Regions from separate parts of the Homo sapiens genome. Here all the other regions are linked to region 2. Evidence: promoter capture Hi-C in 16 types of primary human blood cells and fetal thymus (Javierre and others, 2016). All regions are on one chromosome and are shown on one strand. Each heading gives the region's core, a stretch centred on a gene start or on the middle of the fragment in contact. The rest is flanking DNA. Distances are from core to core; before and after follow the strand shown.

Evidence for each region. The method cuts DNA at HindIII sites, captures the fragments that hold promoters and counts their contacts. A CHiCAGO score of 5 or more calls a contact.
Region 1: a contact is called between a fragment that was not itself captured here and the fragment with the promoter of PRMT3 in region 2, in 1 of 17 cell types (non-activated CD4 T cells). The highest score is 5.2, in non-activated CD4 T cells.
Region 3: a fragment that was not itself captured here is called in contact with the fragment with the promoter of PRMT3 in region 2 in 1 of 17 cell types (activated CD4 T cells); the score reaches 5.4 in activated CD4 T cells.

The regions. Positions count from the first base shown.
Region 1 is chr11:18,015,235-18,017,934 of GRCh38, forward strand. It overlaps TPH1 (tryptophan hydroxylase 1), which reads right to left. Exons shown (of 11, transcript NM_004179.3): 11 at 2,321-2,700. Among named protein-coding and RNA genes, the nearest start is that of SERGEF, 3.5 kb to the left of the region's middle. The HindIII fragment of the contact is 3,043 bases long and covers 1-2,700 here.
Region 2 is chr11:20,386,357-20,389,056 of GRCh38, forward strand. PRMT3 (protein arginine methyltransferase 3) reads left to right here and starts at 1,360. Exons shown (of 16, transcript NM_005788.4): 1 at 1,360-1,418; 2 at 1,663-1,798. The coding sequence starts at 1,391. RefSeq lists enhancers at 1,068-1,237, 1,111-1,718, 1,719-2,325, 2,181-2,230 and a silencer at 1,071-1,630. The HindIII fragment of the contact is 3,061 bases long and covers 1-2,006 here.
Region 3 is chr11:18,326,617-18,329,316 of GRCh38, forward strand. The region is part of intron 1 of GTF2H1 (general transcription factor IIH subunit 1); the gene reads left to right. Among named protein-coding and RNA genes, the nearest start is that of GTF2H1, 5.4 kb to the left of the region's middle. The HindIII fragment of the contact is 4,770 bases long and covers 1-2,700 here.

The sequences.
Region 1 (2,700 bases), core at 197-2,696, 2.4 Mb before region 2:
GAGAGAGAGAGAGAGAGTGTGTGTGTGTGTGTGTGTGTGTGAGAGAGAGAGAGAGAGAGAGAGAGAGAGAGAGAGAGAGAGAGAGAAATGGAAATTAGGAGCTAAGGACTTTTTATTACCTGTGAGCAAGCAGAAAGTCAGGCAGCAACCTGAGATTTCATCCAGAAGGGCAAGGAAGAACTACCTACAGAGCCAGTTTTAATAGAGAGAAGGTCTGGGAGAATATAGTTGTTTTCTGACTCCACCCCTTGAATGTACAAGCATCAATATTTTAACTAACCTACAGTTATATTATCATGTCATATCCCTTAATACAATTTATTGGAAGTGTTGAGATGTTGCAACTATTTCAACTATGTACTCGCCACTGCCTAGTTCTTCCCATGAGCAGCCTGGCTGAATTGCAGTTCTTGAATGGGACTAGATTTAAACCATCTAATGGCTTCACTTTCAGATGGCTTATCTCCCCAAAAGAGGAAAGTATAAAGTATTTGAGAACATACAGATTGCATCTCTGTACCATGAAGGTTAGGAAATTTTTTCCCGTTGGATTATTTTTTGTGATCATCCCAATAATACTAGTATGATAAGTGCTGTTAGGATTATTATTTTATCTTATTTTGTTTTTTTGAGGCAGGGTCTCCCTCTGTTGCCCAGGCTGGAGTGCAGGTGGCATGATAATGGCTCACTGCAGCCTCTACCTCCTGGGCTCAAGTGATCCTCCTGCCTCAGCCTCCCAAGTAGCTAGGGCTACAGGTGTGAGCCACCTTGCCTGGCCAGGATCATTGTTTTATAGATGAGAAAACTGAGGCTCAAAGTAGTTATTTACTTCAAGGTCAGTTTTCTACTTTTGATAAAGGAAGATTAGCTAGCTGCATACCTATTCTCTCATAAAAAAACAACTAGAAAATTTGACAAAATATTTTTAAAATATATTTCAAGTTATTGGAGAGCTATCAAAGCAGGAAGAACTTGAAGGGCCAAGATCTGGAAGCTGAGAGATTATATTTGGCACTACTTTTCTGCTTGAAGCACTTGCTAATTACTAAGCAATGTCTTGGAGGCTAAGAAACTGGGCTGAAATCAACAACTAAGAAGCTGAGCAGTACCTTTAGCAATCTCATAGGGTAGGGATGGGAGGAGGGAATGGTGGACATGAAGGAGGGGACAAAAGTAGTAGTCCAGAGCCCCCAAGGAGAAGCCCTGGTACACACTCATAGTTTTCTCTTGAGATCCCTAAAGGGCTACACCCTAAAAGTCAAGGTGAACTGGAAATAGACCAGCCCTCACAAAGACTGAAGCTCAACTTCTCTTTGGCTCAATCCCTAATTGGACTCAGACTTTACCATGCCATTATATACTGCCTACTAGAAGCAAAAATTAATACCCTCTTGTGGAAGATAAAATCATCTAGAAGCTAAGGGGGAATATCTGTTAAGAGAGTGATTGTATTAGTAATTCTTTACATGTGGAAAATGAGTTTTTTTTTTTTACAAAGTCCTCTTGCAGCATAACTTCTCCAATAATCTAGTGTAGTAGACTTAGTTCATTTTACAGATGAGGAGTGTAAACCAAAAATAAAATTCTAAGGCCCCCCCCAACCATCTGAATGGACTTTCTTCTAGGCCAGGGCACTCTAAAATGTAACCCGAAACACTGATTCAGGCCATGACTGGAAGTGGGGTCACGCACATGCCTCCTTATACCTCTCCAGCATTAACATCAACACAGACCTTAAGTCTGATAAGAAAAATTGACAGTCTGTTCTCTTGGAAGCCTGCCATCTGGAGGCTTCATCTGCATGATAAAACTCTGGTCTCCACAAACTCATACAGCAACCCAGACATTCCTTTCTATGAATTGCCAATTAGAAAAATTTTAAAACTACCTATAATCTGGAAACCTCCCACCCAACACTTTGAATTATCCCAGCTTTCTGGACTGAGCCAGTGTATCTTATAAATGTATTTGACTGAAGTCTCATGTCTCCCTAAAATGTATAAAACCAAGCTGTACCCTGACTACCTTGGGCACATGTTCTCAGGGTCTCCTAAGGGCTGTGTCATGGGCCATGGTCACTCATATTTGGCTCTTCAAATACTTTACTGTGTTTGACTCTTTTCGTTGACAGGAACATAACACAGACTTTACGAAGAACTCTGAAAAGTGGTTACCAGGTTCCAGATATGTTTGGCTTCTATCTCATATCCATAGGCTTTTTAAGAAGTATAAAGATACAATGGATTTCCTAAACTAATAAAATTGCTAATGTAACTTTAAATAAATTTTTAACGTATGTTTGAAAAAAAGTAAACATTGGTTGAGAACATAAATTTTGTGTTCATTTATTATCCCACTGAATAACAAACTTGTAAATCATAAATATATATTACATAGTAAAACAAAGATTAGACCAAAATAGACCATAGTACCTTAAACACTTCCTATGAATTAACATATGGACTCTATCATATGTTCCTTTAGAGAATTCAGGATTTTTTTCTTTTTTGAATTTGGAAGCCAACTTAAAAGCTAACAATAATTATTTACATTTTGGTGTGTCATTACTACTTGTATAACTCCAAATGACAGAATATGTAGATAAAGAAATGTAGGTATTCTGAAGACCAGCTTTTGAGCATCCTTAAGAAGTCATGAAGATATTAACTATGTCTTTGAATAATGATTTACTGATTAAGA
Region 2 (2,700 bases), core at 110-2,609:
GCACTCCAGCCTGGGCAACAAGAGCGAAACTCCGTCTCAAAAATCAAACAAAAAAAAGTTCTATGGTTTGAAGAGATATAAGGAAAGGAAGAAAGGGACGTGGCATGAGGCAGGCAGGGGAACATTTGTGTTCTTCCCCACACAGCAGCCAGATTGTTACTTTCTCAACACATCTGAGAGCATCACTCCCTGGCTTAAATAGTTATGTCTGAGCACTTTACATGTATTAACTCGTTTTATCCTTACTGTAGTTCTGAAGTTAGTCCAGGTTTTTTGTTTTTTGTTTTTTTTTTTTTAAGATGGAGTCTTGCTCTGTTGCCCAGGCTGGAGTACGGTGGCACAATCTCGGCTCACCACAAGCTCCGCCTCCCGGGCTCAAGCAATTCTCCTGCCTCAGCCTCCCAAGTAGCTGGGATTGCAGGCGCGTGCCACCACACCTGGTTAATTTTTGTATTTTTAGTAGGGACAGGGTTTCACCATGTTGGCCAGGCTGGTCTCCAACTCCTGACCTCAGGTGATCCGCCCGCCTCAGCCTCCCAAAGTGCTGGTACTATAGACGTGAGCCACCGTGCCCTGCCCAAGTGCAGTTATTATCCTTGTTTTGTATTTGATGAAACTGAGGCAGAGAGAGGTCGAGTAACTTGCCCAAGATCACAGTTACAAAGTGACGTGGGTAGGATTCAAACCCAGCAGGCTGCCTCTAGAGTTCACGTTCTCACTTAACCAAAGATTAAAATCCGTCTTGGGGGGTTTGACACCTATCTGTCCCTGCAGTAGACCCACCCTGGCCCATGCAGTTCGTTCCCTCTCGCCAGCTGCACCCCCTCCAGGACCTGGGAGCCCAGAAACCAGCCGAGCCTCCAGCGTTTGGCCTCCTCCGCCACCAGAGGGCGTCATGGGCCGATCGCCCCTCCGCTAACCGCTCATCCCAGGAAAAAGGGGCGCACAGAGGACAGGATGCCAACCCCAAAACCGCAGCGACGTCTCTCTGCCTTGGGGCTCACAGCAGCGGGCCGCGACCTCCCACTAACGCCTGCCGCAACCCAAGGAGGAGACAAAAGTCATCTTCCGGGCTGCAACATTAACCGTCATCAGCGCGCCTCTTCAGCGCGCACTGCGCCAACCCTGCGGCAGGAGGAGGCGGAGCCCCCGCTCTCGCCCCGCCCCCACCTCACGTGACCCGCACGGCGCCTCGAGGCCGGAAGCGATTGCGAGCCAGCGCGCGCGCTTCGGCGTTCCCGGCGGTCTGCGAAGTTTCCGGAGCCCGGGTCCCGCCGCGGGTTCGCGCTTGTGCTCGCGCTCGTTCCTGGAGTCGGCGGCCGCTGCGCGCGCTCGTTGCCCAACCCGGTCCCCGCCCCCAGACACGCCGGGCTCTCGGGGCACCACAGCCATGTGCTCGTTAGCGTCAGGCGCTACCGGTGGGTACCCTGGCCCCTCAGCACCCGGCTCGTCCAGCCCCAGGCCGCGCCGCTGTGGGGCCGGTGGAAGACCCTCCGGGACACGGGCCCGGGCAGGGTGGGGGGCTCGCAGGGATCATGAAGGAGGTGCTGAGTGAGGGCCGCGGGCGAACGGGGCGGAGGAGAGCCCATCGTCACCTGCTCCTCGAGCCCCCGGGCCGCACCGGTGTCCGAGGCCGATCTGATTGTTGTGTGTGTGTGTTAGGCGGCCGGGGCGCTGTGGAGAATGAGGAGGACCTGCCAGAACTGTCGGACAGCGGGGACGAGGCCGCCTGGGAGGATGAGGACGATGCAGATCTCCCCCACGGCAAGCAGCAGACCCCCTGCCTGTTCTGTAACAGGTTCGTCCGCCTCAGCGCCTGGCCTCTGCCCTAGGGTGCCCGGGCGCGTGGGGTCTGTGTGCCCAGGAACGCCTTCGGGCGGGAGGCAAGCCAGAGTGGCCTGTCTTTGAATTCTGGAACCACTGGTCTGGGGTGAGGGCTTGTGGAGAAGGAGGACCCTCGGTAGTAGAGAGGGGGAACCGTGAACTGGAAGGCCGGTTGTACTGCAAGCTTTTGACTGGTAGTGCATTGAATCTGTGGTTCCCAAATCTTGTCACTTGAGACGCTGAAAACAAAATGATACTGAACTCTGCACCTGAATCCTTCCAAGTCAGGGATGGGGTCTAAGAATATTCTGTTTTTATGAGGACAAGATCGGAAGTAACAGTGAAGTTACTAACGAGTTACTACTAACGAGTAACATATTTGGCAGCCACCCTGAACTAGATAATCCCTACGGAGCCTTCCGGCTTTACCATGCTAATTCTTTGACCAGTACAGAGCTTCTCAGGTGAAACATTTCTTTTTTATTTGAGCGGTTTCCATAGTCTAAGAAGGAAGTTCACCTTACTTAAGTAGGACTTTTCACTTAAGGAAAAAGACTGTAGTATCAATAATTTGCTCAAGGTCACAAAGCTGTGGTGTGCTTATTTCCAAACTCACATTCTTGCCACTTAAAATTCTGCCTGTTAGTCTTGGGAAGCTTTGGCTCCTGTCCTAGGCAAGTAGGCATGAAAGAGGCCCGGTTGGCATTGGCCGGTGTTACTTTAATACATTTTCCAGTGTTCCCTGTATCTGGGCATGGTGCTGAGTGGTGGTGCGTTAGTGTTCTCATCTGTAGCCCCATTGGGTAGATAGAATGCCTGTATATATTCTAGTTGTCATAAAATATTTATTGAGCACCAGTGGTACCGTGGCTGTGA
Region 3 (2,700 bases), core at 182-2,681, 2.1 Mb before region 2:
TACCTTCTCAACTCATAAAGGTCTTTGTATTATTTTCCAATACTAACACTTTATTTGTGCCTGTAAGTCCAGTTAATTGGAGACTTGCTCTATCAGCTGTCCTTGCTCACTGCTTTTCTTCCAACTGCTGACATACTTAAAATTATCCTACTTAAGTAGGATAATGAAGTATCAACATACTTAAAATTATTTGCCAACTTCCCCGTCAGATCCTCCCCTCATCTTTCTTAGATTTTAATTCATTTTTCTTAAAACATATGTTTCCTAATTTGTATGGTTTGCAGTCCAGTTTCATATTCTACAGAGTGGGCTTTTTAAAATATGTTCTCTAACTCCCAACCTCAAGTGATCCACCTGCCTCAAAACCTCATCTCTACTAAAAAAAAAATAGAAAAATTAGCTGGGCGTGGTGGCAGATGCCTATAATCCCAGCTACTTGGGAGGTTCTGGCAGAAGAATTGCATAGTTATATGTTTATTGTAAAGAATACTAGAAAATGAATGTTAAAATAAACTATTGAAAATAGAAAACACTGTTTTCAAATTCTCACACTAGCACCCCTAACACTTTCCTGGGTTACCTTTATAAACATTTGGTTTGATAGAGAAGAAACTCTTGGGAAGACTTTTTTTTTTAATAACTGCTCTAGTATAAAATACATAATTATTATAGATCAGAAAAGAGAACATTTAAATCATCTGTATTTTTATCACCCATAGATAATCATTATTAAATTTGGTATCTATCCCTTCATTCGCATATATTTTCAGAGTAACATAGTGAAATTTCAAAGACAGACTGACCCAGATTCAAACCCAGTTCTGCTACTTCCCTGATGGTTTAAGAAAGCCTCTTGATTTCTCAGACCCAGTTTCCTTATCTACAAAATGTAACTAATAATAGAACCTACCTCATGGGATTATTAACTGGGGACTGAGATAATGCCTATAAGAAACTTAGTGCAGAACCTGACACATTATTAAGCATTCAGCAAATTCTAGATGATGGAGAATACTCTGTCACCCAGACTGGAGTGCAGTGGTATCATCACGGCTCCATCTCCCTGGACTCAGGTAATCCTCTCATTTCAGCCTCCCGACTTGCTGGGACTACAGATGTGTACCACCAGGCCCAGCTAATTTTTATAGTTTTTGTAGGGACAGGGTTTTGCTATGTTGCACGGGCTGGTCGCAAACTCCTGGTCTCAGGCAGTCTGTCCGCCTCGGCTTCCTAAAGTGATGAGATTATAGACGTGAGCCACCCTGCCCAGCCTAAATTTTAGATTTTTTTAAATTTAAGAATATGGGGCAGGCCGGGTGTAGTGGCTCACGCCTGTAATCGCAGCACTTTGGGAGACTGAGGCGGGGGATCACTAGGTCAGTTCGAGAGCAGCCTGATAACATGGTGAAACCCCATCTCTACTAAACATACAAAAATTAGCCAGCCATGGTGGCATGTGCCTCTAACCCCTAGTTACTGAGGAGGCTGAGGCAGGAGAATCACTTGAACTGGGGAGGCGGAGGTTGCAGTAAGCCAAGATCGGGCCACTGCACTCCAGCCTGGGTGACAGAGGGAGACTCCATCTCAAAAAAAAAAAAAAAAAAGAATATGGGGCCAGGCACTGTGGCTAACGCCTGTAATCCCAGCACTTTGGGAGGCCGAGGCAGGTGGATCACCTGAGGTCAGGAGTACAAGACCAGCTTGGCCAACATGGCGAAACCCCGTCTCTACTAAAAAATACAAAAATTAGCCGGGCGTGGTGGCAGGAACCTGTAATCCCAGCTACTTGGGGGGCTGAGGCAGGGAGAGTTTCCTGGAACTGGGAGGAGGAGGTTGCAGTGAGCCAAGATCACGCCACTGCACTCCAGCCTGGGTGACAGAGCAAGACTCCATCTCAAAAAAAAAAAAAAAAATTTTATGGAATCATGCCAGGCATGGTGGCTCACACCTGTAATCCCAGCACTTTGGGAGGCTGAGGCGGGCGGATCACTTGCGTCCAGGAGTTCAAGACCAGCCTGGCTAACACGGCGAAACTCCATCTCTACTAAAAATACAAAAAATTAGCCAGGCATGGTGGCACATGCCTGTAGTCCCGGCTACTCTGGAGGCTGAGGCAGGAGAATCGCTTGAACCCGGGAGGCGGAGGTTGCAGTGAGCCGAGATCGCGCCACCGCACTCCTGCCTGGGTGACAGTGAGACTCCATCTCAAAAAAAAAAAAAGAATATGGAATCAAACTACATGCCTTTTTTTTCTGTGTATCTTTTCATGTCATTAAATAGTCTTAAAACAGTTTTTTAAACTTCAAGAAGGGAAAACTCTCAAAGTCTTAAGACATCAAATAAGTCAGTTAAAAGGTGGTATCGTTTATTAAGAATTGTGATCCTTTATCATATTTGATATATGGATATCAAAATGGGATTGTAAGAAAACAAATTCTCAGTGGTGAGTAAAAATCACAAAATAATGGACTTGAATGTATTTTATGATTACATTTGTAAGGTGGGTACAGATAAGGTAAGCACAATTAAAAATGAGGAAAATTGATGTTAGGGTTGTGACATGGAATTTTTTAAATCCCTTTTTAATTAAAAGCAGTCATCTAATCGGGCTTTATTCCAGCGTTTGCAAATGCCTACATAATGCAGACTATCTCCACCTGCATGACTCAGCAGTACCTCACATTCATCATGTCCGGAACT